Regions from separate parts of the Homo sapiens genome. Here all the other regions are linked to region 5. Evidence: promoter capture Hi-C in 16 types of primary human blood cells and fetal thymus (Javierre and others, 2016). All regions are on one chromosome and are shown on one strand. Each heading gives the region's core, a stretch centred on a gene start or on the middle of the fragment in contact. The rest is flanking DNA. Distances are from core to core; before and after follow the strand shown.

The links. The method cuts DNA at HindIII sites, captures the fragments that hold promoters and counts their contacts. A CHiCAGO score of 5 or more calls a contact.
Region 1: a contact is called between a fragment that was not itself captured here and the fragment with the promoter of ZNF470 in region 5, in 4 of 17 cell types (non-activated CD4 T cells, naive CD8 T cells, naive CD4 T cells and 1 more). The highest score is 9.5, in non-activated CD4 T cells.
Region 2: a fragment that was not itself captured here is called in contact with the fragment with the promoter of ZNF470 in region 5 in 2 of 17 cell types (fetal thymus and activated CD4 T cells); the score reaches 6.9 in fetal thymus.
Region 3: the fragment with the promoter of ZNF606 here is called in contact with the fragment with the promoter of ZNF470 in region 5 in 1 of 17 cell types (naive CD8 T cells); the score reaches 5.1 in naive CD8 T cells.
Region 4: a contact is called between the fragment with the promoter of ZNF329 here and the fragment with the promoter of ZNF470 in region 5, in 10 of 17 cell types (non-activated CD4 T cells, total CD4 T cells, naive CD8 T cells and 7 more). The highest score is 11.2, in non-activated CD4 T cells.
Region 6: a contact is called between a fragment that was not itself captured here and the fragment with the promoter of ZNF470 in region 5, in 1 of 17 cell types (non-activated CD4 T cells). The highest score is 6.6, in non-activated CD4 T cells.
Region 7: the fragment with the promoter of ZNF586 here is called in contact with the fragment with the promoter of ZNF470 in region 5 in 2 of 17 cell types (non-activated CD4 T cells and activated CD4 T cells); the score reaches 9.6 in non-activated CD4 T cells.

What each region holds. Positions count from the first base shown.
Region 1 is chr19:58,127,852-58,131,688 of GRCh38, reverse strand. It overlaps ZNF329 (zinc finger protein 329), which reads left to right. Exons shown (of 4, transcript NM_024620.4): 4 at 2,178-3,837. The coding sequence starts at 2,186. The coding sequence ends at 3,811. Among named protein-coding and RNA genes, the nearest start is that of ZNF329, 21 kb to the left of the region's middle. The HindIII fragment of the contact is 846 bases long and covers 2,141-2,986 here.
Region 2 is chr19:58,164,855-58,169,019 of GRCh38, reverse strand. All of the region lies in intron 1 of LOC124904784 (a long non-coding RNA gene), which reads right to left. Among named protein-coding and RNA genes, the nearest start is that of ZNF274, 16 kb to the left of the region's middle. The HindIII fragment of the contact is 1,212 bases long and covers 781-1,992 here.
Region 3 is chr19:58,001,541-58,005,447 of GRCh38, reverse strand. It overlaps ZNF606 (zinc finger protein 606), which reads left to right and starts at 2,628. Exons shown (of 7, transcript NM_001348022.3): 1 at 2,628-3,052. ZNF606-AS1 (ZNF606 antisense RNA 1) reads right to left here and starts at 2,554. Exons shown (of 4, transcript NR_036508.1): 1 at 2,402-2,554; 2 at 2,112-2,237; 3 at 748-1,065. RefSeq lists an enhancer at 2,277-2,696. The HindIII fragment of the contact is 14,498 bases long and covers 1-3,513 here.
Region 4 is chr19:58,149,445-58,153,448 of GRCh38, reverse strand. ZNF329 (zinc finger protein 329) reads left to right here and starts at 2,660. Exons shown (of 4, transcript NM_024620.4): 1 at 2,660-2,697. RefSeq lists an enhancer at 2,524-2,583. The HindIII fragment of the contact is 7,703 bases long and covers 1-4,004 here.
Region 5 is chr19:56,564,884-56,568,717 of GRCh38, reverse strand. ZNF470 (zinc finger protein 470) reads right to left here and starts at 1,250. Exons shown (of 6, transcript NM_001001668.4): 1 at 680-1,250. It overlaps ZNF470-DT (ZNF470 divergent transcript), which reads left to right and starts at 697. Exons shown (of 2, transcript XM_047439806.1): 1 at 697-1,645. The coding sequence starts at 697. The coding sequence ends at 1,635. RefSeq lists enhancers at 811-920, 1,301-1,510, 1,521-1,570. The HindIII fragment of the contact is 7,993 bases long and covers 1-3,834 here.
Region 6 is chr19:57,936,772-57,940,917 of GRCh38, reverse strand. ZNF256 (zinc finger protein 256) reads left to right here. Exons shown (of 3, transcript NM_005773.3): 3 at 1-85. Among named protein-coding and RNA genes, the nearest start is that of ZNF418, 3.4 kb to the right of the region's middle. The HindIII fragment of the contact is 1,983 bases long and covers 939-2,921 here.
Region 7 is chr19:57,767,890-57,771,487 of GRCh38, reverse strand. It overlaps ZNF586 (zinc finger protein 586), which reads right to left and starts at 1,812. Exons shown (of 3, transcript NM_017652.4): 1 at 1,610-1,812. The coding sequence starts at 1,645. RefSeq lists enhancers at 1,578-1,827, 1,549-2,088. The HindIII fragment of the contact is 1,086 bases long and covers 809-1,894 here.

The sequences.
Region 1 (3,837 bases), core at 1,314-3,813, 1.6 Mb before region 5:
TGCCCATTTTTTTTCTTTTTATGTGCTGTTCTGTAAGAATCCTCTGTAGTTCTTGGGCAGTAATTCTTTGTGCTTTTAAATCTTATTTTCTCTCTGTAAGAATCCTCTATAGCTCTTGGGCAATAATTCTTTGTGCTTTTAAGTCCTATTTTCTCCCTATCTGCCACTTGCATTTTGTCTCTTATTGTGTCTTTTATTGGATGGAAAATTTGAATGCTGATATCAGACTTCTTAATCCTTGTCTGTTTTTTATTTTTTGGTTTTTGTTTTTTGTTTTTAAGACATGGTCTCTTTTGCCCAATCTGGAATGCAGTGGCACAATTACAGCTCACTGCAGCCTCAGCCTTCTGTGTGGGCTCAAGTGATAACTCCCACTTCAGCCTCCCAGAGTGCTGGGATTACAGGCATGACCCCCAATGCTTGGCCATATGGTTTTTTGGTTAAGTTTTGTTGATCAAAGTCTGCCACACTTATGAAGGCATACTACATTATTTAAACTTTGACTTTATGTTGCAGCCTGTATCCTTCTGAAATGTAAATACACGCGCACACACACACACACACACACATATACACATATACATGTATATATATTTAAATTGCCTAGAATGTAGACATATATGTATGTATGTATTCTGAGGCAAGGGTCTATTTTCATTTTACCTTAAAAAATAGAAAGAAGGCTGGGCACAATGGCTCATCCCTGTATTTGCAGCATTTTGGGAGGCTGAGGTGGGATAATTGCTTGAAGTTTTTGAGATTGAGGCTTCAGTGAACCAAGATCACACCACTGCACTTCAGCCTGAATGACAGAGCGAGACCCGATCCCACCAAATGAATGAACGAATGAATGGACAACCAGTTGTCTTAATATTGTGAAGTCTGAATGGACAAGGATGGTGACAGGAAGATTGATATGCATGAAGACACATGCAACCATTTACAGAATGCCCTTCATCCCCTAGCCTTGGAGACTGCTTTGTACATGATCCAGTTTTTTTTTTTTTTTTTTTTTGAGACGGAGTCTTGCTCTGTGGCCCAGGCTGGAGTGCAGTGGCACGATCTTGGCTCACTGCAAGCTCCGCCTCCCGGGTTCGCGCCATTCTCCTGCCTCAGCCTCCCGAGTAGCTGGGACTACAGGCGCCCGCCACCACGCCTGGCTAATTGTTTGTATTTTTTTAGTAGAGACGGGGTTTCACCACGTTAGCCAGGATGGTCTCAATCTCCTGACCTTGTGATCTGCCCACCTCGGCCTCCCAAAGTGCTGGGATTACAGGCGTGACCACCGCGCCTGGCCGACATGATCCAGTTTTTATAACAACCATGCAGGGCAGTCTTTGACAGTTTTTGTTTTGTTTTGTTTTTTGAGATGGAGTCTCACTCTGCCGCGTAGGCTGGAGTGCAGTGGTGTGATCTCAGCTCACTGCAACCTCTGCCTACCAGGTTGAAGTGATTCTCCTGCCTCAGCCTCCAGAGTAGCTGGGACTACAGGCATGTGCCACCACGCCTGGCTGATTTTTTTTGTATTTTTAGTAGAGACGGTGTTTCACCATGTTGGTCAGGCTGGTCTTGAACTCCTGACTTCAAATGATCCACCTGCCTCCACTTCCCAAAGTGCTGGGATTACAGGAGTGAACCACTGTGCCCCGCCAGGTCATTGACAGTTCTAAGACTTAGACCCAGAACTTTTAGGTCACCAAGCCTGTGCTTTGTCCTATCCATGAATGCAGAACTTTGATGACAGAGCTGGGGTGAGAACTGTTCCTTCAGTGCTGTTGTAAGCTCATTGTGAAGTCAGAGCTTTGGAAATGTGTACTGATGGGCAGTGTGTGACAGGGACAAGAATGCAGTGGCTGGGATGGAATTCTAGGGGGAGCAGGGATGCTTGGCCTCTGGTCTCTCACATCTCAAACTAATCCTTTTGGTGATGATTTATCCCGAGGTCCATTCCTCCTGCCTGCTCTCTAGGAAGATGAAAATGCTACATGGCTCTTTTTGAATCTGTTCTTGGTTCCATTCCTTGGCTACGATTTTACCTCTTCCTTGTATAAATTTGAATTTAAAAGAGAAAACAAGTAAAAAAATACACATCTTTACACCTAGCCCATCATCATTGTCTGTTTCTCTTACAGATAAAGCTTCATATACCTAAGTCTGCATTTTTCTTCTTTTTGCAGTTTGGGATATGAGATTGAAAATGACGACTCGGAATTTTCCTGAGAGAGAAGTACCCTGTGATGTAGAAGTGGAAAGATTCACAAGGGAAGTTCCCTGCTTGTCCAGTTTAGGTGATGGTTGGGACTGTGAGAACCAGGAGGGACACTTGAGGCAATCAGCTTTAACTCTGGAGAAACCAGGGACTCAGGAAGCAATTTGTGAATATCCTGGTTTTGGGGAGCATTTGATTGCAAGCTCAGACCTTCCACCGTCTCAGAGAGTTCTGGCAACAAATGGTTTCCATGCACCTGACTCAAATGTTAGTGGTCTGGATTGTGACCCCGCCTTACCCAGCTATCCTAAAAGTTATGCAGATAAGAGAACTGGTGACAGTGATGCCTGTGGAAAAGGCTTCAACCATTCCATGGAAGTTATTCATGGAAGAAATCCAGTGAGAGAGAAGCCCTACAAATACCCTGAAAGTGTTAAGTCTTTTAATCATTTTACCTCTCTTGGTCATCAGAAAATAATGAAAAGAGGCAAGAAATCGTATGAAGGTAAGAATTTTGAGAACATCTTTACTCTGAGCTCATCGCTTAATGAAAACCAGAGAAATCTCCCTGGAGAGAAACAATATAGATGTACTGAATGTGGCAAATGCTTCAAACGGAACTCTTCTCTTGTTTTGCATCACCGAACTCACACCGGAGAGAAGCCTTATACTTGTAATGAGTGTGGAAAGTCCTTCTCCAAGAACTACAACCTGATTGTGCATCAAAGAATCCACACAGGAGAGAAGCCCTATGAATGCAGTAAATGTGGGAAAGCTTTCAGTGATGGCTCAGCTCTGACACAGCACCAGAGAATTCACACAGGCGAGAAACCTTATGAATGCCTAGAGTGTGGAAAAACCTTCAACCGAAATTCATCCTTAATTTTGCACCAAAGAACTCATACAGGGGAAAAACCATATAGATGTAACGAATGTGGGAAACCCTTCACTGACATCTCCCACCTTACAGTGCATCTCAGAATCCACACCGGTGAGAAGCCCTATGAGTGTAGCAAATGTGGAAAGGCTTTCCGGGACGGCTCGTACCTCACCCAGCATGAGAGGACTCACACTGGAGAAAAGCCCTTTGAGTGTGCAGAGTGCGGGAAATCCTTCAACAGAAACTCTCACCTCATTGTGCATCAAAAGATCCATTCTGGGGAGAAACCCTATGAATGTAAAGAATGTGGCAAGACTTTCATCGAGAGTGCGTACCTCATCAGGCATCAGAGGATTCATACTGGCGAGAAGCCCTATGGCTGCAACCAGTGTCAGAAACTTTTCAGGAATATCGCTGGCCTCATTAGGCACCAGAGGACTCATACTGGTGAGAAGCCCTATGAGTGTAATCAGTGTGGCAAAGCCTTCAGGGACAGCTCCTGTCTGACCAAGCACCAGAGAATTCACACTAAGGAGACCCCATATCAGTGTCCAGAATGTGGGAAGTCCTTCAAGCAGAACTCTCACCTGGCAGTACATCAGAGACTCCATAGCAGGGAGGGTCCCAGCCGGTGTCCTCAGTGTGGAAAAATGTTCCAAAAGAGCTCATCCCTTGTTCGACATCAAAGAGCACACCTGGGAGAGCAACCCATGGAAACATAATGGTTGGGGGCCACATGAGTCTTCCA
Region 2 (4,165 bases), core at 137-2,636, 1.6 Mb before region 5:
GTCTTTTTAACCCTGCCAAGACATTGGACATGCCCTTAGAAATGTGAAGATACGTACAACTCATTTTTTTTATTTTTTTGAGATGGAGTTTTGCTCTTGTCACCCAGGCTGGAGTGCAATGGCACAACCTTGGCTCACTGCAACCTCTACCTCCCGGGATCAACTGATTCTCCTGCCTTAGCCTCCCAAGTAGCTGGGATTACAGGCATGTGCCACCACACTCAGCTAATTTTTCTATTTTTACTAGAGACAGGGTTTCACCATGTTGGCCAGGCTTGTCTCAAACTCCTGACCTCAGGTGATCCTCCTGCCTCGGCCTCCCAAAATGCTGGGATTACAGGTGTGAGTCACCGTGCCTGGCCAACATACAACTCTTTATGATGCTTCTATTCAAGTAGATAGAAGAATGCTATTGGCAAAGTATTAGCAAGTTAGTATAAAGCTCTCTGATTTGTTTGGAGTGATAATATTTGGATTATGCAGAAAAAAATTGATAGCATATCCTTCAGCCCTCATCTAGGACTATCATAAAATTATACACATAAGGATCCCCATGATGCTAAAAGGTGTATGATTCCTGCACCATTCTTCAAGGTTGACGGTTCTTTTATTCATACGTGATGTAGAAAAATAGATACGCTGTTGCCATATGATTCCTGCACCATTCTTCAAGGTTGACGGTTCTTTTATTCATACGTGATGTAGAAAAACAGATACGCTGTTGCCACTGATAACATTTATGGGCAACCCGCTTGGGTCCCCTTCCACACTGTGGAAGCTTTGTTCTTTCGCTCTTTGCAATAAATCTTACTGTTGCTCACTCTTTAAAAAAAAAAAAATTTACATGTGATTACCTATGACAACCATTTCTCTTCTTTTCTTTTCTTTTAGACAGGGTCTCGTTTAGTCACCCAGGCTGGAGTGCAGTGGTACCATCTCAGCTCACTGTAGCCTTGACCCCCTCAAGCAGTCCTCACTTCCCAAGTAGCTGGGACTACAGGAATGCACCACCACGCACAGCTAATTTTTGTATTTTTATTAGAGACGGGGTTTCTCCATGTTGCACAGGCTGGTCTTGGACTCCTGAGCTCAAGTGATCCACCTGCCTTGCCCTCCAAAAGTGCTGGGATTACAGGTGTGAGCCTCTGTGCCCAGCCATGATTATCTATGGCAACCATTTTTTTTTTTTTTTTTGAGATGGAGTTTTGCTCTGTTGCCCGGGCTGGAGGGCAGTGGTGTGATCTTGGTTCACTGCAACCTCCACCTCCTGGGTTCAGCTATTCTCCTGCCTCAGCCTCCTGTGTAGCTGGGATTACAGGCATATGGGAGACATTTCTTTTTCTTTTTCTTTTTTTCTTGTTTTTTTTGAGACGGAGTCTTGCTCTGTCACCCAGGCTGGAGTGCAGTGGCACGATCTCGGCTTACAGCAAGCTCTGCCTCCTGGGTTCACACCATTCTCCTGCCTCAGCCTCCTGAGTAGCTGGGACTCCAGGCGCCCACCACCACACCCAGCTAATTTTTTTTTTTTGTATTTTTAGTAGAGACGGGGTTTCACGGTGCTAGCCAGGATGGTCTTGATCTCCTGACCTCGTGATCCACCCGCCTCGGACTCCCAAAGTGCTGGGATTACAGGCGTGAGCCACTGTGCCCAGCCGCATATGGCCAGACATTTCTATGAGACATTGTTCATCAGGCCTAGACCCTGAGTCCCCATTAAATGGTGTTTCTATGGCAAATTAGGGACATATGTAGAATAGAACTGCTTATCCCTGCTGATCTGTGGCTGCAGGGAGTCACAAGTTTGCAGTCTTGTTACATTCAGATACTTAAGAGTTAAAAAATAACTGGTGGCTTTTGCCTCCTTTATCCCTGATGTCAAATAAAATGGAATTCCAACCAATAGCTTTTCCACATTGATCTTTTTTCAATGAGTTTTTCTAATTTGTTTGAATTTCCTGGTGTCAAATAAGGTAAAAGCCATGGTTGAAAGCTTGCCAATACTGACTGCATTCATAGTGTTCTCCAGTATGAGTCCTCTTACGTTCAATAATATGAGAACAACTCCTGAATGCTCTTCCACGCAAATTACATGTATGGGGTTTTCCTCAGTATGAGTCCTCTGATGTCACATCATAAGGGCTAGGCTACGTCTGAAGCCTTTCCCACGATGACTGTATCCATCACTTTGCTCTCCAGTGTGTCTTCTGTGATTTTTGAGTAGTGGAGGAGCAAAGTGTAAAACCTTTCCCTGAATGATTCCCTTCATAAGGTGTCTCTATAGATTCTTAGCTATAGGGTAAAAGTGTTCACTTCTTTAGAAGAATTTCCTAAATTCACTGCAAATATATAATTTCCCACAAGTATAAATTGTCTCATATTGAATAAGGTATAATTTGTGTCTACAGCCTTTGCTACAGCGATTACATTTATAGTATTGTTCTCCTGTATAAGTTCTGAAACATACTGAAAGAAATATTTCTTAATAAAGACTCTCCAACACTCAACACATTTGTAAGGTCTATTTCCTGAGAGAGTTTGCTCATACATCAGTGGGGTTGAGCTCTGTTTAAAGACTTCTTTACACATACTACATTTATATGGTCTCTCTCCAGTATGACTTCTCTGATGTCAGAAAGTATTTACCATAAACAGGGATTTCTCACATTCAGAACATCTGGAGGGTTTGTCAACTGTGTGAGTGCTCTCAAAACAAAGATGAGAGGAGCTCTGAATACACTTTTCCACATTCCTTACATTCAACTCAACTCTCTCTAACATGAATTCGCTTACATTGACTGAGACTTGTGCTACACTTAAAAAATTTACTACGTATATTTCATATATAAGGCTTTTCTACACTGAACTGTTTGCAAGTCTAAGAAGTTGAGTGTTTTGACCAAAAGCATTCCCAAAATCATAATTTTCAGGGGTTTTTCCCTGTGCATTTATGGTTTATTAAATCTGAATGTTGTTTTACAATGAGTCATGTATGTAGTGGTATTCATTGATAAGAATATTGTTTAGTGGGCCAGGCACGGTGGCTCACGCCTGTAGTCCCAACATTTTGAGAGGCCAACGTGGGTGGATCACAAGGTCAGGAGTTCAAGACCAGCCTGGCCAAGATGGCGACACCCCTGTCTCTACTAAAAATACAAAAATTAGCCAGGTGTGGTGGCGGGTGCCTGAATCCCAGCTACTTGAGAGGCCGAGGCAGAGAATTGCTTGAACCCAGGAGGTGAAGGTCGCAGTGAGCCAAGATCATGCCATTGCACTCCAGCCTGGGTGACAGAATGAGACTCTGTCTCAAAAAACAAAAACAAGGCCAGGCGCGGTGGCTCATGCCTGTAATGGCAGCACTTTGGGAGGCCAAGGAGGGTGGATCATGAGGTCAGGAGATCGAGACCATCCTGACTAACACGGTGAAACCCCGTCTCTACTAAAAATACAAAAAATTAGCTGGGTGTGGTGGCGCGCGCTTGTAGTCCCAGCTACTCTGGAAGCTGAGGCAGGAGAATGGCATGAACCCGGGAGGCAGAGCTCGCAGTGACCTGAGATCCTGCCACTGCACTCCAGCCTGGGTGACAGAGCAAGACTCTGTCTCAAAAACAAAACAAAACAAAACAAAAAAGAATATTGTTTAGTGGAAGAAGGCTTGAATTCTACTTAACATTAGCTGTGCATTTCTTATTCTTGCAACCTCATTCCTGAATCAGTGTTCCTCAAGCATCATTTGTTTGACTCATCTCTCCTGGTCCTCCTTCTGCTTCTCTAAGTGGACCTTACAGTCCTGGTTTCTTCCAAATGTGAAGAAATGAAGCTCATTCTTTGTGAATCTTTCCACTTTCAGGATGGCATTTTTGTTGTTGTTGTTTTTATTTTGTTTTGTTTTGTTTTGAGACGGAGTCGTCCTCTGTCACCCAGGCTGGAGGGCAGTGGCGCAGTCTCGGCTTACTGCAACCTCTGCCTCCTGGGTTCAAACAATTCTCCTGCCTTAGCCTCCCAGGTAGCTGGGATTACAGGTACACGCCACCATGCCCAGCCAATTTTTGTATTTTTTTTTTAGTAGAGACGGGGTTTCACCGTGTTGGCCAAGCTGGTCTCAAACTCCTGACCTTGTGATCCACCCACCTCAGTCTCCCAAAGTGCTCGGATTTCAGGCATGAGC
Region 3 (3,907 bases), core at 1,379-3,878, 1.4 Mb before region 5:
AAATGTTTCTTATCAGACTTAAAGAGTCTGTTCTATCACTAATTCTAGAAGGGAGGAGGGTATAATGAGGCAAGTCCAGCTTCTGCTTCCCATCATGGCCCGAACTCATTTTTCAAATTAACTTTGGAATGCCCTTGGCTGAGAGGAGGGGTCTATTCATATGGTTGGGGGGTGGGGGGCTTAGAATTTTATTTTTTGGTTTACAACATTAATCCATTCATGACAGCAGAGCCTTATGACCTCCATAAATCCCATTAGACCCTGCCTCCCAACACTACTGCACTGGGGAGTAAGTTTCAACATGAATTTTGGAGAGGATAAAAACATTCAAATCATAGCAGGGGTGTTTTTCTTCATCTGGTTTCCTGACACCTTTAGGTCAAAGGTATCTCTCTCATTTGAGTTCCCTCTCAAAAGTGAACAGAGCTACCTCATCTCTCTTTAGAATATGAATTCTAGTCTTATTTTATATGAACATTGAGGTTTGTGTAGCAGGTATTTGGTGATTGCATATCTTAAAACTTGGCTTCTGTACTGTATGAGACTATCAGTTACGATACGAAGAAAATAAAAAGAGAGTAATACAATTGAGAATTAGGGAGATGAGTCACAGCTGGCTGTTACCAGGATGTGACATCTGTGCTGTGATCTGGATGAAAAAAAGAAAACCCTGGGGCTGTACAAGGAAGAAGATTCCAGGAAGAGGAAACAATACGTACAAAGGCCCTGAAGCAGGAATGGACTTACCCTGTTTGAGGAGTGGCTGGGGTCCAGAAATGGGCAGGAATGACAGGAGATGAGCTTGAGGGACTGAGGTGGGGTGTGGGATAGGACAGAGGCCAGTCCTGCTGAGTTTTCTAAGCTGTGAGCTGGAATTTGGATTTTACTTTAATTACTTGGGAAGCCAGTGCAGAATGTGAGGCAAGGACCTGATGTGAGATCCTAAAAGTGCCCTTGGCTGCCTGCTGGAGGATGAGCTGTAGGGGGCTGGAGTGGAAGTGGAGAGACACTCTCTTCTTACTTCTGTCACTCTTCCTTCTCCAGCCTCTCTTTCTCTGCTTGATCCTGAGATGGAAATTGTGGCTGTACCATCCATAGATTGCTTTCCTCTCAGTGCCCACTCTGACTGGGTTCACCTTCCTGCCAGCTGGGGCCTGTCCCAACACCTTGCCCCTTCCACCTTACCTCTCTCATGGTCCTCTCCCTCGAATTCAGCCTGTCCTACTTGAAATTTTCCTCTCCCTTGAATTCAGCCTGTCCTACTTGAACTTTTCCTCTCCCTCTGAAAGGGCTACTCCCCTTTGCCCACCCACAGTGAGTGCCAACACCACCCAACAACAAAAGCCCAACCCACAGGCCAGCTTTTTAAAATGATCCTCCATTACTAGTGGAAATATCTTCAAAATCTCTCTTGCCCACTGCTCACTCAAGTCTAGCTTCCTAAATGGCCATGCTTTCTTTGGTATCACCACCTACAGTCCCTCAGTCCCTTTTTTTGAGACAGAGTCTTGCCCTGCTGCCCAGGCTGGAGTGCAATGGCTTGATCTCGGCTTACTGTAGCCTCCGCTTCCCGGGTTCAAGCGATTCTCCTGCCTCAGCCTCCCAAGTAGCTGGGTACAGGTGCCCTCCACCAAGCCCGGCTAATTTTTGGTATTTTTAGTAGAGACGAGGTTTTATCATGTTGCCCAGACTGGTCTCGGAACTCCTGACCTCAGGCGATCCACCTGCCTTGGCCTCCCAAAGTGCTGGGATTACAGCTGTGAGCCACCGCGCCCGGCCCGTTTTTGTTTGTTTTAATGCCGGGTCTTGCTCTGTTGCCCAGGCTGAAGTGCAGTGGTGCGATCATAGCTCACTGCAACCTTGACCTCCCAGGCTCAAGCAATCCTTCCACCGCAACCTCCTAAGTAGCGGGGACTACAGGCGCGCGCCATCACACCGGGCTAATTTTTGTATTTTTTTTGTAGAGATGTGGTCTCGCTATGTTGCCCAGGGTGGTGTCGAACTCCTGAACTCAACTGATCCTCCCGCCACAGCTTCCCGAAGTGCTGGGACTACAGGAATGAGCCACCGCTCCCGAACCGCTCCATGCATATCGATAGAGGAAAACTCACAGGGTGCGTCGCTGGTAACCCATGCTCCCATAAAGCCTGGCCTCTGGAAAGAGACTTGGGAACGAGCCCTGACGTTCTCAGCCGTCGAGCTTCACAGAGAAGGGTAGCTCGAATTAGGTTCCTTATCTTAAAGAGAATAACAGCAGTCACTTTCTCACAATCTTGCGAACGCCAAATGGAAGGATCCCTCGAGAGCGCTGAGAACTCGCCGAGCTCCTCCCGGGAAACCCGGTACCACGAGGCGCCATTTTGCGGATGGGCAAACCGAGGCCCGCGGGGCCGCGACTTACCCAGGCCTTTTTGCAGTGGGAGGCGACGGTGGAGGAGGGTGGTCTGGGACCGGGACAACAAAGTCCATCCTGCCGCCGGCTTCGACGCAGGTGCCAGAAAGGTCCCAACCCCGCCCAGGCAGGGCGAGGCGGCGCGGCCCAGGAACCTGTCATGGCGGCGCCGCTGCCCGACGCCGGAAGTGCCCGCCTGGAACTACAGCTCCCAGCAGACCCCGCGGCGCGCTCCGGTCGACGCCGGGGAAGCAGCCGCCATTGTCCGCGGCTGAGGTGAGGCCTTTGCTCAGGCTGTGGGGCCGCCGTAGCTGCGGGGCTTGGGGGGTCAGGAGAGCCGGCTGGGAGAGGCGGCGTCAGGGTGGGTCCTGCGCCTGCCCTTTCCGCGCCGGCTTTGCGCCGTCGTTGCCGTCGGTTCTCCAGCCAGCAGCCTGCCTCCGGCCTCCCGCCTCCGGGCGTTCTTCGTTTTCTGGTCGGACGGGCCTGGGTGAACTCTGCTGCACGTCGGCTCCGCGGGCCTTTGTCCCCGAGGCCGCGCCGGGAGCTCCCAAGCGCACTCCTGGGCCGGACCTCGGCGCGGGACAAAAGCCAAACGCCCCAGGCGGGCAGACCCCGATCCTGCTGCGCCGCCTTCAAGGGGGACCGCCGGCCGCGAGCCAGGTGAGGCCGGGACGAGCTTTTGCAGCGTCGCGGCCGCGTCGGTCTTGAGGAGGAAATTTGGGTCGGGAGCTCTGGAAGCAGGTGATAAGGATGCTTCTGAGGCCATTGATGGGACGAATAACCCCGTTCGTTCCCCAGCCGTCGTTTCTCCCCCTGCCAGTTCACACAAAGCACTGTGAAGGACGTCAGACCTGGGTTGGAAACAGCTCCGGGTTCCCTTAAACATGCAGTGACGGCGGCGGTCACTGTCAAGTTGCAAATAATGGTGCAAAGTACGGTTTGCATTCTGCGTTTTCGCGCTGATTCCGGTGCTCCTGAGGCCCACTGTGTGTTCTAGTGCTTTATACACATACCCAGGAATCCATTCGAGAGGTTGCTGACTTGTACAAAGATCTGGAACCTGAGGAGTTAGGGGTCTGGGCGCCAGGCCCATCTCTAAGTCCTCCACACACACACAAGCTTAGGCTTAGTAAATCTTGGAGGTGAATTTTTTTTGGAGGTGGGATTAAATTTGCATAACATAATGTTCACTTTAAGCACTTAAAAGTGTGCAATTCACCGGTTTTATTGTATATTAATAAAGTTGTGCAATCATCCCCATTATCTAATTTTAGAACATTTCATCACCCCACAAAGAAACCCTTGTTCCCCTTAAGCAGTCACTCCCCATTTCATTTTTCCCCCAGCTCTAGGCAACCACTAATATATGAGGATTGCAAGTTGATTTTACAATAATTGTCAGATTAATCCAAAAGTTCCATCTGTGTTGTGACTGGCTGTCTCTTGGGAATAGCTGACAAATTTGTACCCTCTCATTCAGGATCATGCTCTTTTTTCCAGCTTATGCAAATTACC
Region 4 (4,004 bases), core at 1,411-3,910, 1.6 Mb before region 5:
AAGATTGCCTACATGTGACCTACAAGAATATACACTTGTGGCCAGGCGCAGTGGCTCACGCCTGTCATCCCAGCACTTTGGGAGGCTGAGGTGGGTGGATCACCTGAGGTCAGGAGTTTGAGACCAGCCTGGCCAACAAGGTGAAACCCTGTCTCTACTAAAAATACAAAAATTAGCCGGGTGTGGTGGTGTGCGCATGTAATCCCAGCTACTCTGGAGGCTGAGGCAGGAGATTCACTTGAACCTGGAAGGTGGAGGTTGCAGTGAGCTGAGATCTTGTCACTGCACTCCAGCCTGGGGGACAGAGTGAGACTCAGTCTCAAAAAATACAAAAAAGAATATACACTTGTGCCAGCACAGTACTTAGCACTAAGGATTTCTCTTTGCCACTGAATGGAAAAAACACCCTTGTTATTATTAATGATGTTATGCTTTATTGTTAACTTTATTACTAGATTATTACTTTTACTCATCTCTTCTTGCATACTCTTCTATTCTTCTGATATTTGTGTCTGTATTAGTGCCTATTTGAGCCCATCTGCTTAATATGGTACATTTTAGTATCTAATAAAGGGTGCCTGACTTTTTTTTTTGAGACGAGAGTATAGCTGTCACCCAGGCTGGAGTGCAGTGGCACGATCTCAGCTCACTGCAACCTCCGCCTCCAGGATTCAGGCAATTCTCCTGCCTCAGCCTCCGGAGTAGCTAGGATTATAGGCACCCGCCACCACCCCCGGCTAATTTTTGTATTTTTAGTAGAGACAGGTTTCACAATGTTTGCCAGGCTGGTCTTGAATTCCTGACCTCAAGTGATCCACCTGCCTCGGCCTCCCAAAGTGCTGGGATTACAGTTGTGAGCCACCGCGTCCGGTCTCCGACTGTTCTTTTAACCAGATACTGTTGGACTTTTCTCCATATGATCTTTAAGTTGTTTTATTCTGTGAGCTGGGGGCGGGGGGAGTCTTTGAATTGGAATTGCTATACTTTTGTTTAGTAGTTTTGTGAAGATTTTTTTTTTTTTTTTGAGACCGAGTACTAGGATTGCAGGCATGAGCCACTGTGCCCAGCCAATTTTTATATTTTTAGAGATGGGGTTTCACCATGTTGGCCAGGCTCATCTTGAACTCCTGACCTCAGGTGATCCCCCCAGCCCGGCTTCCCAAAGAGTTGGAATTACAGGCATGAGCCACTGTGCCTGGTCTGATACGGCCTTCATGGAGAAATTAAAAAAATACTTTCCATTCAGGAATAATATGTCAGTGTGTTCTGAACTTAACTTCAGGTCTGTTAATGAGGTTTTTGTATTTTCTTCATGAAGATCCTTTATTGCTTTTGCTAATTGATTTCCAAGTTGCTCCAACCATCACTATTGTGAGTGACAATTTAATCACTATTATGGCTTAGAATTTTTTTTCTAATTTTCATTTCAAAATTGTGAAGTATTTCAACCTGCGGAGAGGTTCGGAGAGTAATAGAATAATCTATAAATAATAAAGATGACACCCATGTATCATCGAGATTTTACCTGTGTTAACATGTAGTCAGATTTTCAGGTTTTGATTTGTTTTTTCCTATCAAGCATCACAGGTGTAACTGAGGTCTCCTTTGTCTCCTCCCCAACTCTTTCCCCTCAGTTGCCACTTTCTTGAGGTTGGACAATCTATCTGGTCCATGTTATTGTTACTTTACTACTTATGTATCAATCTCTGTATAACATATAGATTTTGTGTCTTTTATTTCCAGGTAAGTTGTATCATGTGGATAAGTGCACAGTTTACTTTTCGAACTGTTTTTGGAGAACTGTCTATCTTGTATATAAGTTAGTCCTTTTTTTTTTTTTTTTTTTTGAGACGAAGTCTCCCTCTTGTCCCCCAGGCTGGAGTGTGATGGTACGATCTCAGCTCACTGCAACCTCCGCCTCCCAGGTTCAAGTGATTCTCTTGCCTCAGCCTCCCGAGGAGCTGGGATTACAGGCGCCTGCCACCACGCCTAGCTAATTTTTGTATTTTTAGTGGAGACGGGGTTTCACCATGTTGGCCAGGCTGGTCTCAAACTCCTGACCTTAGGTGAGCCCAGTCCGTTTGTTTTAACCACCCCCTATTGCTCCGTTGCACATACCACAGTTTCTCTCTTCCCTGTCAGTAAATATTTAGGCTTCCCCATGCTAAAGTTTAAGAGAACCACTGAAAGAATGAAAATGTGTAGTTTTCATTTTCAACCGGCTATTGTTACTACAGAGGAAAGTTACTGGCTTTGTTTACATTTCTTAGATCTAGTCATTTTAACAAATTAGGCCTCCCAAAATGCTGGGATTACAGGCGTGAGCCACGCACCCAGTAAATAATTATATTGCCAATGAATAATGAGTGTACTTATTCTGAATTTTAACATTATTATCTCAAAAAAAGATTATAGATAAAGAAATATTTTAGGAAATTATGCAGTAAATAAAAGGAAGGCTCTATAACAAAAGAATGATAGCATCGGGTTAAAAATCAGAGGAGACCATAGGAGAAAGTAAATGCCTGCGCGTCCGCCCCGAGGCAAGTCCACGCCAGGGTAATGAATAACCCGGTACCCGCGGCCGCCCCAGCGTTGGGCGGGGGAAGCTCGGGGACTCCGCGCACGCGCACATCCTTGTCCCGGCAGCCGCGCAAGCGCAATCGCCCGGAACATGGCTGCCGCCGGCCGCCAACCGTAAGTGCCGACGCATCCCTGAGCCCTGCGCTGCCTCCGTTTCCTGCGGAGGGAAGTCTTGGCGGGTGGAGGTCCGCCGGGTCCTTGTGGGGCGGCGAGGGGCGCGTCCGCGGGTGGGTTTCACCTGGGTGGTGGGCATGTCGGGCCCGCTAGGGCGAGGGTCTGGCCAGGGGCGTAGTTCTCCTGGTGGGTGGGGACGCTCCGTGGCGATTGGGGTCACTCCTCTGAGGACGAGGTCGCTCCGGGGCTGGTCTGGACGCCCCCGCTCTTTCCTTAGCGTCACCCGTGAGTTCCGCGCTCGCATCTCTAGCCCGCCCTCCCATAGAGACTGTTTTGCCACGCCTGCTGGGTGTCCTGGTCCGTCTCCGGGGGTAACCCCCGAGTCTGCAGCTTTTCTGTCAGGTGTGAGGGGCAGTGTAGGCTTGGGTCGGCCTCCGGCTGAATTGGCGGCCGTGAGCCAGTGGGCTGAGCCGCTTCCCCTTGAGTCTCGAAGGTGTTAGATCACCTGTGTGTTTTTCCATTTGATATTTGCAAAATCATGTTTTACTGCAATTCTCAGTGAGGGCCGCATTTTTGCACGTGTTTAGTGACCATTTTGCTGTCTTTTCCCTTGGTTTAGTGGCATATTTCCTTTGTGCAGTCTTCCAGTCTCAATATTTTATGACATAAAATGTTGGTTTAGATAGAGAAGCTGAAAGACTTGTGCAGTGAACGACCCGGTTAACGTCTGCTGAACTTACTGTATCCCTTATCTTTCCTTCTGTCCATCCTTTCAGCCATTCATTAATCCACCTATTTTTGGAAACATTTCAAAGTAAGTTGCAGATATCACAACACTTCTCCCTCAAACACCTCACTATGCTTACCATGAATTAGAGTTCAGTAGTGCTTTTTTAAATTTTTTGAGCCAAAATTGACTTTCAGTGAAATGCACAGATATTCCCTGTACCATTGATGAATTTTGACAAATGCAACCTAAACCTTTATTAAAATTACCATCAGCCTGAAAAGGTCCTTTATTTTTTGCCAAGTTAAAAAATTTGGCTATAGGAACTTGGGCTTGTTGAAGTACGTTTTGAATACCCAGTTTTTGTCTGTTTTTTCTTTTTTCCCACAGCAAGTGACTTTCCTCCATTCTACTGCTTGTTTACCTCTCTCTTCACCCAACTTTTCATTTTGAAAAGTTCCGCATTTGCATAGAAGTTGCAGGAATAGTTTAACACTTCTAAAACCATCCAGATTCTAAAATTATTAACACTTTTTGCCACATTAGCTTTATCTTTATCTTCTCCCTGCCTGAGACACAT
Region 5 (3,834 bases), core at 1-2,500:
TGAAGTTTGGTGCTGATACTCCCAAAAGGTCTTAGAACTGTGTCTGGCACATAATAAACACTCATTAAACATTAGCTATTACTATAGCATGCAGGAAACTAAACAAGCACAGAACAATATGGCTAAAAATAGCCCTTCCTCCCCCTTTCTCTTTATTGGAGTGGGAGGCCAGAGGGGAGGGAGAGAAGCCCAAGGAATGGGGATATCTTCCGTTATTGACTAGAACGTGATTAAGCCATAGAAAGGCTGGAATGCCTCGGCATTTCTGGGTGAAGCTGTGAATCTCGCCTTCTTCCCAAATCCTACAGTGATAGATGGGACAAGGCTCTGACGGGTAAAAATCTAAATGCTGAGCTATTCCTTCAACAGCAGCAGAGTACCCAGAAGTAATGCTATAATGGGTAATATTACGGGTAGTGTTCTCTCCCATGGGCCCTTAGTGATATACCAAGGACCTGAGTCAGGTTATCTGGTTAGGTGTCTCTGGCCAAGTCAAGGTCCCTCCCTAACTAAACCCAGCTCCACTCTGACCCAAGGTGACCCTCCAAATCTTTCGACTTCCAGGTCCACTAGCCTTAGAAACGGGGGACATCCTCCTCCAGCACCTGAACCCCGAAAGACAGCACCCAAAACCTCAATGTCCACTCCGGCAGCCACATCCGTCATCTGTCACTCTTACCTGTGTACTCAGTCCCCATGGTCTTCGCTCCTCGCCGTCCTGTGGACATGGAGCCCTGTCCTGGGCTCTGCCCCTTCCAGATAGGGCTGACAGGAAATGCTTCAGCCGAGGCTGCCCCGCCCGGGCAACTTCCCCGGGCTCTAGGACTTTGCCCACACTGGGCTCTACGCAGTCGATACAGGGGAGAACGGGGTAAGCCTCCTCCGGCCGGGTTTCCTGCTCTTGGCCACTTAAAGTGCTTCACTCATTCCAACACACACCGCCTTCCGCACGCCGCCGGGCCATGCACGCAGGCGCAGATTCGCGGCCACGCACCGGACAGTCACACACCGGGCCGCCATCCCCGCGCGCGCTCGCCCCTCCTCAGCACAGCACCGCACGCTCACCACGTATGGGCACTCACAGCCACCAGGCCACACGCGCACGCTCACGCCCGCCGCCCACACAGGAACCAGGACACCGCCCCCGCCGCGCCCCAGTCCAGCCTCGGCCGCTGCCCCGCCCAGACCTCCCTTCTCCTCAGCAACCGGCGGGACGTGCACTCGCCCGGCTTTGGGTCCTTTCCGGAAGTGGGCGTGTCCTCCGCTGCAATAGCCCCTGGGAAGTGTAGTCCGGAACGGAGGCGGCGTTCAGAAATAGGGCGCTGGCTTTGCCAGGAGCGGCTCCTCTCCAAGCCTGGCGGTCACTGCCCTGTGTCCCCTTTTGGGCCTCTCCTGGTCCTCCTGGTTGGATTAGGAGGCCTCTCAGCCCGGAGTCTGGGTCGCCGAAGTACAGGCCCCTTCACTGAAGCGACCCACGGCGCAGGGGTTTCTGGAAGCCATCGCCAGGCTCCGAGTGTTCAGATGCAGCTGCCAGGCTCAGGACGCAGAGAACTGGCTTCCAGCTCGCAGGAGCGCCTGTCCGTGGTGGGTAGGGTCGCAGGCGTGGGGTGTGCAGGAGCAGTGGGACAGCACTGAAACGCAGTCGGTAAGGCGTAGCGGCTACCCTCTGGAGAGGAAAACCATGACAGGGCGGGGCTTGGGGCGCGGGCGGGGCCTACGCGATAGAAAAGTGAGGAGATTGGGATTTGTCTGCTTTGCACACTTGTGACTTTCTGATGGTGCGCGTGTGGAACCTGTTTTATTTCATGCCTACTAGTTACTGCTCTCTGATATACGGTACGCCCCTCACCTCCCCCCACCCCATTTTATCTCTCCCTGCTGGAAGGAGGGTTCCAAGAAGGCACACAGCTTCCGTCCTGTTCAGGGTTATATTCTCAGTGACTAAAACAGCACATAGTAGGTGCTTAGTTTTTTATTTTTATTTTATTTTTTAGGAAATCACGAAATCTAGCATTGCCAGTCTCACCATGACACAACATGTTATAGGCTGAATATGTCCTCCCAAAATTACTATGGTGAAACCCTAACCCCTAGTGTGATGACGTTAGGAGGTGGGACTTTGGGGAGGTAACTGGTTTTAGATTAGGTCATAAGGGTGATACCCTTATGATGGGGTCAGTGCACTTATTAAAAAAGAGGAAGGAGGGGTCTCCATGTTTACACAACCACCAAGCAAAGGCCATGTGAGGACACAGCAGGATGTAACCCATTTGCAAGCCAACGGGGCCCTCACCAAGAACTGAATGTGCCAGCACTTTAACTTCCCAGCCTCCAGAATTGTGAAAAATAAAGTCTCTTAGTCAAGTCACTTAGTCTATGATATTTTGTTATAGCAGCCCCAGCTGACCAAGATACAGCATCATAGATACTGGCTCACCAGAAACTAACTCACCCTCCCAGTCACACTCAATCACCCAAGGCCACACAGTGACATCTAGACTGGACTCTCCTGGATCCAATTTATGTCAGACATCATAAACAACATAATAAAGCCAAGTCTAGCTGTGAAGATACTTTAACTATGAAACAGCAAATATCATCTTAGAGCTTGTAACGTTTGTGGTTATTTGAGTTGGATGAAAATGATAATATTCTCATTTTAGCTCTGGCATATAAAGAGCTCGGAAGCCTTCATTCCCATCTTCACAACAACAAAATCATTCAACAAACTGAAAATCAACTTTTCTTAGATCCATCAGAGAACTGAAGATAGAAAGGTAACTGACACCCCAAAATCCCGAGAAAGAAAAATACATAAAATTACAGCCAAGATTAGCTTACTTGAAGCAGAAGCCACTGGAGTTATAAACTGGTAAAAACTTTTATTTTTTATAATTTTGATGAATTGCTGGAGGCTTAGTGTGGGCTAACTTGTGAGTTAAAAACTCCTAGGGGCCCAATCTTAGATGGGCCCCCACACTTTCGTGAATTTTACCTCCAGAAACCCTATCAAATTCTCTCAGTGAAGAATGGGGAAAAATCTCAGGTTTTTGGGCAAGGGGAGGAGAAAAGTAAGCACCACATTTTCCATAATAAACACCTGCACTCCAAGAAAAACTACTTACTAGAGTCTTGTTGGACCTTGGGGAGAGGCAATTGGCCAGCTCCAGTCCCTCTATAGCCTGTCTGTCTCAGTAAGGCAGGATTTTTGAAAGGCTAAGAAGTGCTTCTGAAGATCACAGTCCAAGGCCTCAAGCCCACTAGAAAAATAGTATTTAATAATAAGATTATAGAATGCTTCCCTCCCCACTGTACCTCACTGCCACACTAATGGGGCTCTGGTCAATAACAGTAGATTACAACAGAGAAAACTGCAAGGCACAGACTCTATTTAAGAAGGAGTTCTTAGGGAAGCCCACAGAAGGAGAAGCATCTTGGAAAAAGTAGACAACATGCAAGAACAGATGGGTAATGTAAGCAGAGAGATGCAAACTGTAAGAAGGAATCAAAAGGAAATCCTAGCAATTGAAAACCATTGTAACAGACATGAAGATTACCTTTAGTGAGCCCCTCAGACTAAGACACTCTGAGAAATGAATGGGTGAGCTTGAAGATATGTTAATAGAAATTTCCCAAACTGAAATACAAAGAGGAAAAAAAAAGAATGAAAAAAGAAAAAGAACAGAATATCCAAGAACCATGGGACAATTACAGAAGGTGAAATATATGCGTAACTGGAATACCAGGAGGGGAAGAGAGAAAGGAGAGAAAATATTTGAATAATGACTGAGAATTTTCTAAAATTAATGACAGGACACCAGGCCAGTGTGGTGG
Region 6 (4,146 bases), core at 681-3,180, 1.4 Mb before region 5:
GGTAACACACATAGGGCTGTTACGGACTGAGAAGTGTCCCTGCAAAATTCACAGACATAAATAAATAAATACGTATTTTCAATAACCATGTTTTATATTTAGTATATGTTCTCTGAATTTTGTTTTATACAAATAAGTTTATATGTGTACATACTACTTTGTCTCATATCCACACAGAAAACCAAATGGTTTCTTTTTTTAAAAAAATTCTTTGTGTTTAAATGGACAAATTATAATTGTACATGTTCCTGGAGTACATAGTGATGTTTTGATACCTATAACTTAGAGTGATCAGAGTAATTAGCATATCCATCACCTCAAACATTCGTCATTCCTTTATATTGGGAACAGTCAGTCTCAATTGCCATTCTCCTAACAACTTGAAATTATATATTATTAACTTTAGTTCTCCTGTAGTGGTATAGAACACTAGAACTTATTCCTCCTGTCTAGTTGTAATTTTGTAGCTTGTAACCAATCTTTGTCTATTCCTGCCTACCCACTACCCTTCCCAGCCTCTAGTATCCTCTGTTCTACTTTTTACTTCTAAGAGATCAACTTTTTTTTGTGGGGGTGGGGGACAGTCTTGCTTTGTCTCCCAGGCTTTTTTTTTTTTTTTTTTTTTTTTTTTTTTTGAGATGGAGTTTCACTCTTTTTGCCCAGGCTGGAGTGCAGTGGCATGATCTTGGCTCACCGCAGCCTCTGCCTCCTGGGTTCAAGCGATTCTCCTGCCTCAGCCTCCTGAGTAGCTGGGATTACAGGCATGCACCACCACCCCGGCTAATTTTGTATTTTTAGTAGAGACAGGGTTTCTCCATGTTGGTCAGGCTAGTCTTGAACTCCCGACCTCAGGTGATCCACCCGCCTCAGCCTCCCAAAGTGCTGGGATTACAGGCGTGAGCCACCGCACCCAGCTTTTTTTTTTTTTTTTTAAAGCTTCCACATATGAGTGGGAATGTGCATGTTTATGTTCCTGGCTTATTTCACTTAAATAATGTCCTCCATTTCCATCCATGTTGCCTCAGGTGATAGGATTTCATTCTGTTCTTTGAATAGTATTCCTTTGTGTGTATAAACCACATTTTCTTTATCCATTTATCTGTTGTTGGACATCTAGGTTGATTCCATATTTTGGCTATTGTGAATAGTGCTGCAGTAAACGGGGTGTAGATGTGTCTCCAATGTGATGATTTTCTTTCCTTTGGATAAATTCCCAGTAGGGGGATTGCTGGATGATATGGTAGTTGTGTTTGTAGTTTTTTGTTTTGTTTTGTTTTGTTTTTTGAGACAGAGTCTCACTCTGTTATCCAGGCTGGAGTGCAGTGGTGTGATCTTGGCTCACTGCAACCTCCGCCTCCCAGGTTCAAGCAATTCTCCTGCCTCAGCCTCCTGAGTAGCTGGGATTACAGGTGCGTGCCACCACCCCTGCTAATTTTTGTATTTTTAGAAGAGACGGGGTTTCACCATGTTGGTTAGGGTGTTCTCGAACTCCTGACCTCGTGATCCGCCTGCCTCAGCCTCCCAAAGTGCTGGGATTACAGGCGTGAGCCATCGCGCCTGGCATATTTGTAGTTTTTAGAGGGACCTCAATACTGTTCTCCATAATGGCTGTACTGGTTTGCATTTGCACCACCAGTGCATGAGTTCCCTTTTCTTGTATTTTGTTGGGTTTTTTTTTTTTTTTGAGATGGAGTCTTTCTCTGTCGCCCAGGCTGGAGTGCAGTGGCATGATCTTGGCTCACTGCAACCTCCGTCTCCCGGGTTCAAGCTATTCTCCTGCCTCAGTCTCCTGAGTAGCTGGGATTATAGGCACGCACCACCACGCCTGGCTAATTTTTGCATTTTTAGTAGAGACAGGGTTTCACCACGTTGGTCAGGCAGTCTCGAACTCCTGACCTCGTGATCCACCCAGCTCGGCCTCCCAAAGTGCTGGGATTACAGATGTGAGCCACCGCACCTGGCCATTAGTTCCCTTTTCTCTGCATCCTTGCCAGCGTCTGTTTTTGTCTTTTTGATAATAATTATCCTAAACGGGGAGAGTGATACCTCATTGCGGTTTTGATTTGCATTTCCCAGATAGTGATGAGTGTGTTTTAATATATTTTTGACCGTTTGTATGTTGTCTTTTGAAAAATGCCTATTCAGATCGTTTGACATTTTTAAATTGGATTGTTTGAGGGTTTCTTTGCTGTTGAAATACTTCAGTTGCTTGTGTATTGTATTCTGGCTCTATTTTTTTTTGAGACGGAGTTGCTCTGTTGTCCACGCTGGAGTGCAGTGGCACGATTTCAGCTCACTGCAACCTCTGCCTCCCGGGTTCAAGCAATTCTCCTGCCTCAGCCTCCCGAGTAGCTGGGATTACAGATGTGCGCCACCACACCCACCTAATTTTTGTATTTTTAGTAGAGACGGGTTTTTGCCATGTTGGCTAGGCTGGTCTCAAACTCCTGACCTCAAGTGATCTGCCCACCTTAGGCTCCCAAAGTGCTGGGATTGCAGGCATGGCCACTGCATCTGGCCTCTTTCTTGATTCTTGATTACACTGTCACTGAGTGGGTTCTACATCAGAAAAAGATGAATAGGCCAGGTGTAGTGGCCGAATCCTATAATGCCAGCACTTAGGGAGGCCGAGGCAGGAGGATTGCTTGAACTCAGGAGTTTGATACCAGCCTGGGCAACATGGCAAAACCACATCTCTCAAAAATTAGCTGGTTGTGGTGGTGCATGCCTATAGTCCCAATTACTCCTGAATGCTGAGATGGGAGGATCACTTGAGCCTGAGAGGTTGAGACTGCAGTTGAGCCTTGATCATGCCACTGCGCTTCAGCCTTGGCAACAGAGTGAGACGCTGTCTCAAAAAGGGGAGAAAAAAATAGAATGTGGAGATAAGCAGATTTCAAATGTGAAGTGAAAAAGAAGCTTTTCATTGTTCAAACCATATTGCTAAGTGAGAAAAAGTACAGATGTGTATAGAATCTATGACTTTTTTCCTATAAGATGAAAAACTTGTAACATAATTGACACACAGAATAATGAAGAAAGGGAGACACAATTCTATGAGGATAATACTATACTGCAGATTTCACCTTCTGTTTTTACTTATTCATTAAATTATTTATTTGGAGACAGAGTCTTGCTCTGCTGCCCAGGCTGGCCTCAAACTCCTTTGCAGAAGTGATCCTCCCTCTAAGCCTCCCAAGTAGGTAGGTGAACAGGCACAATTTTTCTCCACCTTGGTATTGTTCAATGTTTTTAATAAAGAAAAAAAAATCTCAATGACAAAACCAACAAGGGGGACATTTTTAATCACATGCTGACCTTAATTCCATCTCTTCGTAGACATCACTGTTAAAACTTCTGGGCCGGGCGAGGTGGCTCACACCTGTAGTCCCAGCACTTTGGGAGGCCACCTCGGGTGGATCACCTGAGGTGAGGAGTTTGCGGCCAGCCTGGCCAAAATGGTGAAACCTTGTGTCTACTGAAAATACAAAAATTAGCTGAGTGTGGTGGCAGGCACCTGTAATCCCAGCTACTTGGGAGGCTGAGGCAGGAGAATGAATTGCTTGACCCAGGAGGAGGAGGTTGCAGTGAGCTGAAACTGTGCCATTGTACTCCAGCCTGGACAACAAGAGTGAAACTCCTTCTCAAAACAAACAAACAAACAAACAAACACCTGTAAAGTCAGCTGGGAGCAGTGACTTATGCCTGTAATGTCAGCATTGTGGGAGAAGGAGGCAGGCAGGTCAGAGGTCAAGAGTTTGAGACCAGTCTGGCCAACATGGTGAAACCTTGTCTCTACTAAAAATACAAAAATTAGCTGGGCGTGGTGGCAGGCATCTGTTATCCCAGCTACTTGGGAGACTGAGGCAGGAGAATCGCTTGAACCCGGGAGGTGGAGGTTGCAGTGAGCCAAGATGGCGCCACTGCACTCCAGTCTGGGACAGAACGAGACTTTGTCTCAAAAAAAAAAAAAAAAAAAAAGAAAGAAAAACTTCTGTGAAGTGTAAATTTTTTTCACCATCCACTCATGTTTCAATTGACCTATTTCTGTCATCGCAGTTATTAGATAGTCGTTGGTAATAAGTTTCTGTAACTGGCATTTCACCTGTTTTTCTGGTATCATATTAGTTCCTCATGCAGAACACT
Region 7 (3,598 bases), core at 563-3,062, 1.2 Mb before region 5:
AAGATCCCCAGATTGAAGGACCGGAGAAATGGCACTTAAGTGTCCTAGGAGGTGCGGTAGTTCCTGCTTGGCATCCCAGCACTTTGGGAAGCCGAAGCAAGAGGACTGCTTGAGCCCAAGGGTTCGAGACTAGCCTGGGCAACATGGCGAAACCCCATCTCTCTCTCTCTCTTTTTTTTTTTTTTTTCAGACGGAGTCTTTCTCTGTCGCCCAGGCTGGAGTGCAGTGGCGCGATCTCGGCTCACTGCAACCTCTGCCTCCCGGGTTCAAGCGATTCTCCTGCCTCAGCCTCCCAAGTAGTTGGGACTACAGGTGTGTGCCACCAGGCCTGGCTAATTTTTTGTATTTTTAGTAGAGGGGGGATTTCACCGTGTTAGCCAGGATGGTCTCAAACTCCTGACCTCGTGATCCGCCCGCCTCGGCCTCCCAAAGTGCTAGGATTACAGGCGTGAGCCACCGCGCCCGGCCGTGAAACCCCACCTCTACTAAAAATACAAAAAGCCAGTTACTCGGGAGACTGAGATGAGAGGCTCTCCTGAGCCCGGAGAGGTCGAGGCCGTGCTGCGCCGTGATCGCGTCACCGCAACCCAGCCTGGGTGTTGAGTGAGAACCCGTCGCCGAAAAAAAAAAAAGATGCCAAGATCTAGACATGTGGGATAGGATGAGGACCAGTGAAGGACTAGAGCATCCCCTACTTCCTACTGTGGATTCTGTAAGTGCTTCTGTAGCCATGAGGTGTGCCAAAAGGCAGGGCTTTCACAAATGTGTCTGTGCTCGGATTTGATAGACTCAGGCTTCTCTGTAAGCTTTTTTTGGCCCTGCAGCCAGATGACTTCAGACTGAGTCTCTAATCTTGTGGCCCAGTGCTCAATGTCACCTCTCAATGATTCAACCTCTCAATGTCCTCATCACTGCCTTCAACTCTGTTCTTCCTTCGAACATCTTTTGGGAATCGCAACTCTAACACAGATTTCCTCCTTTGTTCAAAACTGTCCATGGCTTTTAGCGTCCTCACAGTCAAAGTTCAACCCTCAGCCTGGTACTGAAGAAACAACTCCGCCTCGGCCAGGCGCGGTGGCTCACGCCTGTATTCCCAGCACTTTGGGAGGCCGAGGTGGGCGGATCACCTAAGGTCAGGAGTTCGAGGCCAGCCTAGCCAACATGGTGAAACCCCGTGGTGGCGCATGCCTGTAATCCCAGCTACTCGGGAGGCTGAGGCAGGAGAATCGCTTGAACCGGGGAGGTGGAGCTTGCAGTGAGCCGAGATCGCGCCACTGCACTCCAGCCTGGGCGACAGAGTGAGACTCCGTCTCAAAAAAAAAAAAAAAAAGAAATAACTCCGTATCACACTTCTTTCCCAGTAGACACACGATGTCCCCGTGTTCCGCATCCTCCTGCCTCAGTCGCGCCTGCAGGCCTTTGCCCTCCGCCAGTCTCGCTCTGCCGACCGCATCAACTGGGTGTCGGAAACAGGGATCCCACCCGCCGGCGCCTCTCCGTCCCTGACAGAGGCCTGGGCTGCAGGGACGCGAGGAGGCGGCCCTCACGATCAGGGGCCTCAGGGTCTGGGTGGGTAGGGTGGGTAAGGCCCGGAGGTCGCAGCGCTCACCTGAGCAGGCGCCCTCAGAGCGGCTGCTGCCGCCATGACTCTGGGCGGGGGGGGAACGCGGGCTCGGCGGTGTTCCTGTCGTTGTCCTGTCCCGGGTCGCGACCAGCGGCGTCGCCGAACCTCAGATCCGCCTGTGTGCAATGGCCACAACCACTCCTCCCGAGCTCGTCCAGACCCAGCATCGCCGGATGGACCTGACAGGCCAAAATGGCTGCCACGGCTAGGACGCCGGAAGTCCTGGCTTGACTTTACGTGCCCCGGCAATGGCACGGCTTCTCTGAAGCTTCATTGGCTCAGCCACGTTACCATTTCGCAGGGCGGATTCTGGGTAATGTAGTTCCCAGACATGGGCAGCGCTTAAGGTGGCTTTCTTCCGACTTTCCGAAGAAAGGGGCAAGCTCCACTGCGAGGGGCGCTAGGAAATGGCGACTCCAGGTCCAGATGCGGAGGAGGGTCTCCCATCTTAGAAGAGGCCATACGCACATTTCTGGGGGTACTGTGTGCAACTGATTGCCCGCGTGTTTGGAGACTTCTTATTTCAGAATTTGTGATGCTCGGCTTCTTCCTTTTTTTTTTTTTTTTGTCTTTTTTTTAAGACATAGTTCTCTCTGTCACTCAGGCTGGGGTGCAGTGGTGTGATCTTGGCTCACTGCAGCCTATGCCTCCCGGGTTCAAGCGATTCTCGTGCCTCAACCATCCGAGTAGCTGGGATTACAGGCGTGTGCCACCATACCCTGCTAATTTTTGTATTTTTAGTAGAGACGGGGTTTCCTCATTTTGGCCAGGCTGGTCTCGAACTTCTGGCCTCAAGTGATCTGCCTGCAATGGTCTACCGAAGTGCTAGGATTACAGGCGTGAACCACCGTTCTCAGCCCATTAGCAACACTTTTATTTATATCTTTAACCTACAGATTCCTCTAGAAATCTGATATCAACATCAAAAAGCTAATGAGACAAATGCTATTATGTTACAGGACAATGGCTGCGGTGTTCAAACATGGAGTATGTATGCATGAGAGAAGAGAGAGACCCTCTCACATTGTTTTATATTCAGTAAAAACAACAAGGAAGTAAAACCAAAGACAGGCAACCCCGCGCCAGGCCCGAAACCAGGCCTAGGCCCGCCTGGCCTAAACCCAGTAGTTAAAAATCAACTTATGATTTAGAAGCCGATGTTATTCATAGATTCCTTAGATTGTATAGAAGAACATTGTGAAACTCCCTGCCCTGTTCTGTTCCTCCCTGACCACCGGTGCATGCAGCCCCTGTCACATACCCCTTGCTTGCTCAAATCAATCACGACCCTTTCATGTGAAATCTTTAGTGTTGTGAGCCCTTAAAAGGGACAGAAATTGTGCACTCCGGGAGCTCAGATTTTGAGACAGTAGCTGGCCAATGCTCCCAGCTGAATAAAGCCCTTCCTTCTGCAACTCGGTGTCTGAGAGGTTTTGTCTGCGGCTCGTCCTGCTACATGCACAGGGTGCTTTTACACTGAGATATTTCAAGTGCCTTAAATCCATGCGTTCACCTCTTTGCTGGCAAGTGCTTATCATTGTCAGTGGCATTGGAATCAGAGTGACTCCATCTTGAAAATGGGCTGGATAAAGTAAGGCTGAGAAATACTCGGCTGCATTCCCAGGTTAGGCATTCTTAGTCACAGGATGAGATAGGAGGTTGGCACAAGATGCAGGTCACAAAGACCCTGCTGATAAAACAGGATGCAGTAAAGAAGCTGGCTAAAACGCACCAAAACCAAGATGGTGATGAAAGTGACCTGTGGTCATCCTCACTGCTCATTATACGCTAATTATAATGCATTAGCATACTAACTCCCGCCAGCGCCATGACAGTATACCAATGCCCTGGCAATGTTTGGAAGTTACCCTATATAGTCTAAAAAGGGGAGGGAACCTCAGTTCTGGGAAATCTCCACCTCTTTTTTTTTTTTTTTTTTTGAGATGGAGTCTCGCTCTGTCACCCAGGCTGGAG